Linked DNA regions of Homo sapiens: regions 1 and 3 are each linked to region 2. The links are contacts of gene promoters, found by promoter capture Hi-C in human tissues and cell types (Jung and others, 2019). All regions are on one chromosome and are shown on one strand. The core of a region is centred on a gene start or on the middle of the fragment in contact, and the rest is flanking DNA. Distances in the headings are between cores, read along the strand shown. Region 1 has its middle 35 kb from the start of FAM135B. Region 2 holds the start of FAM135B (family with sequence similarity 135 member B). Region 3 overlaps FAM135B (family with sequence similarity 135 member B).

What was found. Contacts are between HindIII fragments. The study calls those that stand out against the background at their distance.
Region 1: a contact is called between a fragment that was not itself captured here and the fragment with the promoter of FAM135B in region 2, in 3 of the 25 tissues and cell types used here (pancreas, spleen and stomach).
Region 3: a fragment that was not itself captured here is called in contact with the fragment with the promoter of FAM135B in region 2 in 3 of the 25 tissues and cell types used here (adrenal gland, dorsolateral prefrontal cortex and spleen).

Annotation. Positions count from the first base shown.
Region 1 is chr8:138,530,744-138,534,061 of GRCh38, reverse strand. No RefSeq gene overlaps it. Among named protein-coding and RNA genes, the nearest start is that of FAM135B, 35 kb to the right of the region's middle. The HindIII fragment of the contact is 3,849 bases long and covers 1-3,318 here.
Region 2 is chr8:138,495,816-138,499,271 of GRCh38, reverse strand. FAM135B (family with sequence similarity 135 member B) reads left to right here and starts at 2,011. Exons shown (of 20, transcript NM_015912.4): 1 at 2,011-2,601. The HindIII fragment of the contact is 12,849 bases long and covers 1-3,456 here.
Region 3 is chr8:138,458,899-138,462,384 of GRCh38, reverse strand. All of the region lies in intron 1 of FAM135B (family with sequence similarity 135 member B), which reads left to right. Among named protein-coding and RNA genes, the nearest start is that of FAM135B, 37 kb to the left of the region's middle. The HindIII fragment of the contact is 7,584 bases long and covers 1-3,486 here.

The DNA.
Region 1 (3,318 bases), core at 574-3,073, 35 kb before region 2:
ATCAACTCCAGCAAATAGTTGCCAAAGAAAATTGTCATTCAAATATTAACAAATCTGATTTTTCCCAGTTAATACAAAAATTGAAATTTTTTACATAAAATTTCTTTTGCAGTACAAAACAGCCTGTCTGTTGGTGGAATTCTTCCTGTAATTCATGTATTTATAACCTGTCATCTAGTTCTGCTATGTCAGCTAAATGCTTTTCCTTGCCTCTTCTCTATGTTAATTCTCAGTTTCATAAGTCGGCCCATTTACTTCTGTGTCCACGACCATTGAATTTGTCTGCCCCATTGTCCAGAGTGACTTCATTTGCTTCCTAATGGGTATAGCTAGGGCCAGAGTTGGCATTGGACATAGTAGCCAAACTGTTGTCTTCAAAAAACACATCTAATCCTGGTCTTCCTTCTGAACTCAGTATTAAAACCCACAATGCCATCCTATTGATTTTAGGATAATGTACAAAGCCCTTGACCTGGAAGGGCAAGTCTGTTTCCAGTATTATTTCTGGCCAAGCCCATGGATGGCTGTGCTCTAGAGATGCACTCACCTTCATTGTGTTCCTCAAGCTTGGCAAGATCCAACCTACCAGGAAGCATTGACTCTTATTCCTCCCATTGTCTGGAATTCCCTATCCTACCTGCCAGCACTGGCTGACTTAGCTCCTGCTCATTTTTTAAAAACCTGAATTTAATAATCACTTCCTTTACTACGTCAATTTTACTTGCTAAATGTAGCTATAAATATATGAGACTCCCATACTTATGAGTTAGCCTTGATTAACATTTTATTATAAATCAGAAACCACAGTTTTCATTGGAAGTGTATAAGACCATTTAAAAAGATGAAAATGCAAAGCACTTAGCCATTATTCTTTGTTCAGGAAGATAAGAGAGATAGTCACAGAATTTTAGTCTGTATCTTGTCATCTTAAAGTTTAATTTCTGTCTCTTTTCTAATAGGACAAAGAACTTTCTGTTATATTCAAAGATTTATTTTTAAAAATATCTTCAGACCTATTTGCTTATAACTTTTAGATTATAAAAATTTATTTGTTGTTATGAATTATTATTGTTTATTTAATGTGGCTGTATTTGTCAAAAGAGGTTAAATTTGTTATCCATCCTTGCAATAATTAACCTGCTTACCCTGAACTCACTGTACTTATCATAAATTACTAATCATATATGAATTGCTAACTCTATTTTATTTTGTTTTTGGAGATGGAGTCTCACTCTGTTGTCCAGGCTGGAGTGTGATGGCACGATCTCAGCTTACTACAGCCTCCGCCTCTCCGGTTCAAGCGATTCCCCTGTCTTGACCTCCCAAATAGCTGGAATTAAGGCACGCGCCACCATGCCCAGCTAGTTTTTGTATTTCTCGTAGAGACAGGTTTTAACATGTTGGCTAGGCTGGTCTCAAACTCCTGACCTCAAGGGATCCGCCCACCTCGGCCTCCCAAAGTGTTAGGATTACAGGTGTGGGCCACCAAGCCCAGCCTTGAATTGCTAACTTTAAATTAACATATGAACATTATTTGAAAGCTTTCTTTCTAGCATAAGTACTAGCTAGTAAAAAGTAAAGAAAGGTCACTAACAGGTTAGTAACCAAATCTTATTATTCTACATTGAATGATTATTTCTGTCATAACCTTTCATTGTGCTTCGAGTTCCCTGTGGTAACCTTACAACTGATAGAAGAAACTTATCCAAAACTTGGAAAGCTGGCTGAGAGCGAGCAGCAAATCCTTACAGTGTCAGAATGGGGCATTTTTTTTTTTATCAAGTCCACTCAGTCATTATTTAATTATCTGGGGGAATTGACCTCTGCTTCATTTTGAAATTTGGTATTTAAGGTATCGAACTCTGTGTGGCATTTCCTTTCAACTTGTCCACCTTTGCTAGTAATGATGCAAATGACATTTGTCCTGTAGAAAAGATGACTCCAAAGGTTATGGTTTTATTACATTGTAGAACACTAACCCATTTTTTTGCTAATGCAGACAATTTATTTTCAGCAGGACTTCCTGGGGGCCATTTTGCCTACTACATGAGAAAAGTCTCTTTGATGAACGTGGCCAGATAGAGACAAACAGAACCAAATTAGGATTAAGTCCTCTCCAGGCTTCACCATGGGACTTCCTATTTACAGGAGGCAACACATTTCTATTGATTTGTGTTGTTACTTTGAAAAATATTGTTTTAAGTACTTTAAGTTGGGTACATGCAACGATGACTTTTGACTTTCACAGTGCATAGCAAATATGGTAGGAAATCTTATTGTTTGGCTTTTTAAGCAAGAGAAGTCATCAGCTACTTCTTGGCAATCATGAGAAAAATAACCTTGAATCACATCTTCATCGTTCTGCAAAGATGCACTTGACTATTCTCTTTCATGCAAGTGGAGTAAATGTCTTCTGTTGCAGGAGAAATAATATGCAAAGCTGATCACTACAGAAGGGGTGTAATGATCCGTGGAAGCAGTCCAGGTAAACTGGAGGTGATCAATAGGAATGCACGGAAGGGCCATGAAACTTCTGAAGTCAAGTGAATCTTGAAGAAATGAATAAAGCAGTCTTACTCCTTGGTCTTAAGTCAAGGTCTCACTAAGGAGGGCTGTGATGGATCGATTGTATCTTGGCCCTGATTTGTACATACCTCCCTGTTGCCCTTCCATTTGTAGTGCCCTTCCACATTGAATCTGAACTTGGGGCCACATTTTTGCTTTAGCCAAAAGAACTGTAGCAAATGTGACATTAGCAGAGATTGAAAAGCCCCTGCATATTGGGGCTTACTTCTTATTGCTCCTGGAATTCTACTGTCATGTAAACAAGCTCAGGGTAACTTGCAAGAGGACAGAACCCCTGTTGCTCCCATTACCCCCATACCCCTATAATCATAGTTAAAATTAATATCAGAGCCCCCAGAAACAGAGCTTTGTAGCTGATCTGCAGCTGTTCACAGATACGTAAGTGAACCCAGCTGAGACAAGCAAAAGAACCACTCAATTGAATCCAACTTCCCAATGCATAGACTTATAGTGGCTTTAAAGCCCTGAGTTTGAGGATGTTTTGTTATGCAGCACAAGCTAACTAATACAAGACCTACTTGTGGCATGTGGGTGGCTGAGGCTAGAATATCCCCAAGTCAGAGTCACCCTGCCACAATACTGTGCCTTGAGGAACAGAATTGTGAGCAGTAACCATGGAATCTGGAGCAGGCAGGGTTCTGGTTCAGAAAGTATACCACAACAACAACAGGCAATATTTGTCTGCTGCATGATACGGGCACCGTCTTCATCTGCTGCATTCCCTAACAACAT
Region 2 (3,456 bases), core at 762-3,261:
TACTTGGAGGGGCTGAGGTGGGAAGATTGCTTGTGCCCAGGAGTTAAAGGCTGCAGTGAGTTAAGATTGTGCCACTGCACTCTAGCCTGGGTAACAAAGTAAGACCCTGTCTCAAGAAACAAAAAAATAGTGTATGTCAAAATTCTCACTCTCACTCTAACCTCGTCAACCTAGTTCTTCCACCCATCTTCACCCTCATAGCTAATAGCTACTTCTCCAAGTTTCTTACATAGCCTTCTAGCGTATTTTTATGCCAATGCAAGCAATACAAATATGTGTATCTGTCTCCTTGTTTCACAACAGTTGTCTTATTTTAATATTATCTTATTTTATCTATTCTGCACTTTGCTTTTTCACTTAATAAATCATGGAGCTGTTTTATCCAGACAATACATCCAATACAAGTAAATCCTATGCTCCTGGCATATCTCTACTGCTGGGGACTAGAAAATGCAGAGGAAAATAATGAGTGCTTGCACTGACTTTCAAAAATAAGGTTGCATAAAAATGCAATGTCAATAGCAAAATAAATGCCATATGGTTATGAACACATTTAAGAGACAAATATTGTAAAAGAAAAGCACCCATTTTCTCTATTGAGAAATTCATATTTATTTGCCATTCACCAAACATTTACTGAGGGTATGCATTGCCCTGGGCTTGCTGGGTGCTGTGGGGAGGACAAGCAGGGTAGATAGCTCAGAGCCTCCATCTGCCCAGGCCCACTATGTCAACAGCCTCCTTAGGACACCTCTTTCTGCAGCCTTAATCCCCACCCTAGCCAGCACCACACACACTTCAACTAAGGTGATCTTCCCTTCATTCCCACCCAGCCTTTCTCCTGCTTAAACTGCTTCACTGCCCTCCTCCCCACCACCTTCCCCATTCCCTTCCCATCCTAAGGGTCACATTGTCAAATTCCAACCCCTTCACTTGGATCGCAAGGCCTTTGGTGTGCAGTGCCTGCCCTGTAAACCTCACCACTCGCCTGCCTCACCTCTCCTTGCCTGCTGCTGCTAGGTTCCTGCTGTTCTGTCCTGCCTCCAGGCCTCTGTACCCTGCTCCTCTTGTCCTGGAAAGAGCAGTCTTCTCTACCCTTCACCGCCCCACTCATTTGTTCTTATACCTTTTTTTCAGGTATCTTTCCCCAATTACTTGCCCCTGCCCCCAGCCTGACAGGGTTAGAGACTCCTCCTGCCAACTGCAATTGCCTGGTTCCATTCCCTGCTTCCTCCTGGGGTGTGAGTTAGTGCAGCCCAGTCTAATGGGGGACATAGTCATCCTCTAATGCCTGGTTCCATTCCCTGCCTCCTCCTGGGTGGAGTTAGTGCAGCCGAGTCTAGTGGACGGGTCACTGGGCTTCCGAGTCCCAGTCTTGGCTCCTTCTCTAAGGCTGTTTTGTCATCTGTCACAGGCATGCCACGAGAACTTGCCAGCACAGTGGTGGTGATAATTAGAGTTCCCAATGCCCCTTAAGAATGCTCAGTAGACGGGAGCTGGCTTAACCCTCCCCAATCTTCCTCTCCCTCCTCCGTGGACAGAATCTCACACGTCTGTGAACCCCCACGTTCAGCATGAAGTGAGGAGCCCATCGGATGACGGGCCGGCTGGCTGGTTGAAGGCCACTGCTGACTTCGCATTGGAGGTATGGGTTGCTCAGCGCTTTTACCCTTTCTCAGGCATCTACTTGTTGCCTGGGCTTCTCTTCCAAGTTCAACAGTCCCCTCCCAGCCAGTTCTCCGCCGCGCCCCGCCCCCGGATATCTGCAGGGACCCTTTTCCTGCCCGAGGCCTGGGGTCTTGGCTCGAGAGGGGAGCCCCGCCGCGGGGACTGAGCATGCTCGCGCCGGTCAGTCTGGGAGGGCCGCACGCGGGGCCGCAGCCTGCGCCCTGGGCACCCGGGCGGCCGAGCGGGCGGGGTTTGGCCGCCGGGCGGCCCGCCCCGGGCTCCCATCAGGGCCTCGCGGCGGAGAGGGACCGAGGTGGGAGCGCGTGAGCCGCGCCGCCAGCCAGTCGCGCAGCGTCTACCCACGCGGTGCGCAGCGGCTGCGGAGCGGAGCCAGCGGGAGCAGCAGGGCGGGCTCTCCCGGCCGCGAGGGCGCGCGGCGCGGCGCGGAGGGTCTGGCCGCGTCCCGGCGGAGGAAGGAGAGGAGTGAGGGCGCCAGAGGTGAGCGCAGCCCGGGAGGCGCCAGCCCAGCGGCGCGGGCGCAGCCGGTCGGTCCTTGCTTTCTTGCGGCGCTGGCGGCTGCGTTCCCCCGACCGCGCTGACAGCCTCGCGTCCTGGCGCCTGCTCGCTGGGGCTGCCCGGAGGCCGCGGCCGGGCAGCTGTTGCACGGAGAGGGGGGCAGTTGCGGGGTTCCATAACCATAGCAACCGCATCAGCACCGGCGGCGGCGGGCGAGGGCAGCATCCGCTCGCTCCTCCTCCAGGCAGCCTCGCCGCGGGGACCCAACACCAGCTCGCAGGTGCTGCGGACTCCCCAGTCCGCCCGCCGCCGCCGCCGCCGCAACTGTTGGCGGCCAGAGACGGCGAAAGAGGAGAGAGAGGGACCCAGGAGCGCGGCCCCCGGGGGAGAGAGAGGGGAGCCCTGCAGTGGAGACAGGTAGGTGAGAGCGCTTCGGGGTCGGCAGCTGCAAAACTCTCTCGTCGGTGGTAGTGACGCTTCTGCAAGCGTGGTTGCCAGTTGGATGGCTTTCTGTCACGGAACAGCGATTCCGCCGCAAAATGTGGTTTATCTCCCTCGATTTTCCCCAGTCTCTCTGCCCTCCAGGTTTGCTGCACATCTGGACAGGTCTTGAGGGGATAAGAAGGGCCAGGGCTGTGAAAGGAGCGGAGAGGCTGGGTTAATGAGGGGTTCCCCCCAGGAGTCCCAGATGGAGGCTGAGGGGGCGCATGCAGACCTTGGCCATTGGGGTCCTTGGAGCCAGGGAACCCGGGGGCCAGGCTCAGGAGAAGACCGCACTGGGGTGGAGGGGACAGTGGCAGCGATTCCCTGTGATCCAGGCGAATGCACAGACCCGTTCTTCCTGTGGCTTGGCTGGGGACAGGGGTGTGCGGGGACACTGCAGCTCAGCTGTGACATGGAAAGGGACCAGCTCTTGATCTGTAGAGCCAGCTTCAAGCCCAGTCACTGGAGGGGATGTTTAGACGAGGCAAGTAGTAACTGTTATTATTTTGGGACACAGGAGTATCATGTTATTGCCGTTGACTATTAGGGATAGGATGGGAATAGAAATAAAATTTTGAGCTAGCAGTCAAGACTATGCCCTCCCCTTCTCCCCACCTCATTTCTAGCTCCCCACCCCACTTTGCCAGCAAAACAAGAATCACATCGCTCATAGTGACAATCCTTGCTCCTTGGCCACTGGCAAACTATCTCGCTTTCAGACAGCTGGAGACACCGCTTCAGTTGTCCATTTGAACCAGGGGGCATTGTTTTCCATCAGGTTATGATGCT
Region 3 (3,486 bases), core at 341-2,840, 36 kb after region 2:
CATGAATCCTTGAAAGAACTTAGATGTAACTTGCTCTACCAAATAGGAAAGTATTCTGCACAGTTACGAAAACAAAAATAAATGCCAAGATCAATGGAACAATGTGTTGTCCCCAAATGGCCTTTGGTATATGACAAGTAGAAATCAGTAGAAAGAGAAAGAAAACAAGTATTCCACATATATGTACATATATACATATATGTGGAATACTTTTAATGTATAACATATTACATAGATATGCAATACTTTGTTTTCTTTCTTTTTCTTCTCATTTCTACTTTGTTTCTGGAAGTATTTACATTGATGGATTTATCATCATCATTATCATCATCATCATTATTATCATCATCTATCAAGCCAACCTTGGATAATTGATTCAGCTGGTCATAGAGTTGAGTCAGGCTTCTGAGAGAAGGCTGACAGCTCATCTGTGTCATTCGGGCAGGATGACAGCCACATGAATCATGCTGCTCTGGGTGGGCGGTTATTAGCAACCTTCTCCCACCCTCGTGGGTTGAACGATACAGAGAGAAGATCAGCATTTTTGAGTATGTGCTGGTTTTAAAAAGAAATCAAGGGACAGTGCCAATGTGGCTATGTCTTGTAGAGGAAGGCAGGCCTGGGTTTAAATCCCAATAGTCATGGTTGTCTGTGAGGTCCTAGGATGATTTACATAGACTACTGACGTCTGAGCTTCATTTTTTATCAGAGAGTGATCCTATTCATTTCATAGTGTTCTGTTCAGGGTTAAATGCAATATGTATAAGGAACCTTGCACAGGTGCTAAATAGCTAGCTCTACAGAATTAGAGTATTGGCTTAACATTTCATTTGCATACCTTGACATGGACTTGAAAACCAAGAGAAGTTAAATGTCAATCCTGAGGTCATGTTTAAATATGTTTGTGGTAATTTATTGTGTGTGTACTCTGCCTTCATCATGTCACTGGGCTTCTCAAATCCTCTGGAAAGGAATTTTTGTAATCTCTTCACTACAAAAAGTCATAACATCTTAGAACTGAAACAGACCTTTGCTGACATCTGGCTTTATTTCCTTATTTTACAAATGAGAATTGGTGAGTTGTTTCCTTGATGACCAGGATGCATCCCCAGCACCCTGGTCCACTTCCTGGCTCAGGTGTGTGCTTAACACCCCTGCATATCTCAGCTGCCTTGCAGTGTGAGCCAGGACTGCTGTCAGCTTAACGTAAGAGTATCCATGACTAATAGTGGCTTCAACTCCTGTTTATTTAACTAGCCTGGAAGTGACCAGTGACTGACATTAAAAAAAAGAAACTTATAACAAAGGATTAACTCCCTGTTTTTTAAATGAGCATCTGATCCTTATCTCACCGGTTCCCTTTGCTGTGGATTGGAAGAGAAAATAGGAAAACCCAAGCTGTCTGAATACAGGAGCTTTGGCTGTATGATGCCAGGCCCCGCTCTGCAGGAGTCTGAGCCCTACCTCAGTCCAGATCTGAATCAGGGTCTATAAAGAGCTGAGGTTCAGGGTGGAGTTATTCTTTGCCGTCCTTAGCTATTGCCTTGTTGTCACATTGTTGCAGTAGAATGACCACAGCTCCCAACGTCACATCTCTGTTCAGGGAAGAAGAAAAGAGGAGTGCAGCACCAGCCATTTTTCTTCCTTGTCTGTTCTTTTTTTATAGAAAAAAAAATCCTTCCAGAAGCCTCCCAGAATATTTATTCTTTTATTTCATTAGTCAAAATGGAGTCACCTAGAGGAGCATCCTGGAAGAAATGCTGGAGAATGAATAACTGTCTTCTTTTCCCCAATCTTAATAGTCTGAAGCAGGCACAAATGTATACTCTGAGGCATGGGGAGGCCTGAGAATAAACAGCTCTTGGGTTAGACAGTCCCTGCCATGTTTGGGTGAAGGCCCTGTTGGTGTGAATTGGCTCTGAGACCTTTGCCATGTCCCTTTATCTTCACTTCCAGGGTAGGTGTGTTTCACCCTCCAGGCTGCTGTTTTGCATTTGGAAGAAGGCTTTAGCTTCTGGGGCTGTGGGTGTCTCAGGCACTGCAGCATAGCACTGGGTTGTTGAACTCATAGGCTTTGAAGCCAGACAGTCTATGGAATCTTCCATTCCTGGCTGCACTGCTTACTAGCCATGTGCCTCTAAGCAAATTATGTCCCTTACCTGTGCCTCAGCGTCCTCATCTGCAAAATGTAGGTATTGTGTCTGCCTTCTAGTAATAAATGTGATAATGAGTGGAATGGATAATGAACAGAAACTGCTTAGCATGGTGTATCACCCAAAGAAAGGGCTTAAACTATTGGTACAGCAAAGAAACAATAGTTAATCCTTACAGGATGCTTCCTATGGGCCGGCCTTATTCACAGTGCTTTTGCATATATTAAATCAGATCATCCTTATCTCAAATTGAGGAGGAAAGTTCTATGGTTCTATTCATTTTACAGCTGATGGAGCAGAGTACAAGGATGGGTGAAGTAACTCCCTTAGGCTGCCTGGGATTTAAACTGATGCATTCTGGACCCAGGGTCCATGGCCAATCTCTATTTTAAAGTGACTCACAGACTTTCAGAGGGGGCCTGCTTCTTATCTCTCCAGTTCCCTTTGCCATAGCTTGGAAGAGGAAACAGGAAAACCCAAGCTCTCTGAGTATAGGAGCTTTGGCTGCACAATGCCAGGGCCCCTTCTGCAGTAGTCTGAGCCCTACCTCAGTCCAGATCTGAGTCAGGGTCTGGAAAGAGCTGAGGTTCAGGGTGGAGTTATCCTTGAAGAGGATGAGACAGAGAAAAACTGACCATTCATCATCATCATCCCGCCAGTTTGAGTATTGAATCAATACAGCCTGTGTTTCTCATGATCGCCTGGTCCTTGAGACTGTTGATAAGGCATTAGAGAGCTTCATGGTTGTTGATAATCTGAGGAACGCCCTCTCTAGTGACAGACTGTCACGGACATGGAGGATTTTTTGAAGTGCCTTTTCAATTTTATGAGTTGAGGATCCTGCAGCCCTGGAGATTTATAATTGTCCCTGCCACTGCTGCTTTGTGCCTTCTTCTAGTTTCTGCCTTGTTTATCTGGTTTTCTTCCCCCATAGTATTTTGGCAATTGTGAAAAGTGGTTCTGGAGAAGTACCAACAAATGCTCTTACTGCCCGAGAACTGACACTTTTGGAGGCTACTGATGTTTACGGCAAAATAGCCTGAGTCCTTTAATGTCCTTCTTTGATTGTTCTACCAGCTACGATTCCTGCAAATCCCTGTCATTCTTCATCACAAAGTTATAGAGGTACTATGATCATAACTTTCCCCAGTTCCTTTGGCTGTGGGCTGATTTGGGGGTGGGGAGTGGCAGTGCTGCGTGGATTCAGACGCCCAACCTCTGCTGTATTCCCTGGGCTTGCCTGTGTAGGGAATTTCACACACATGTACTGTGTGGCCACCAGTACATGCCGGCAATTTCACAAGTCAGAAATCCCACACTTCACTTTGCTTCT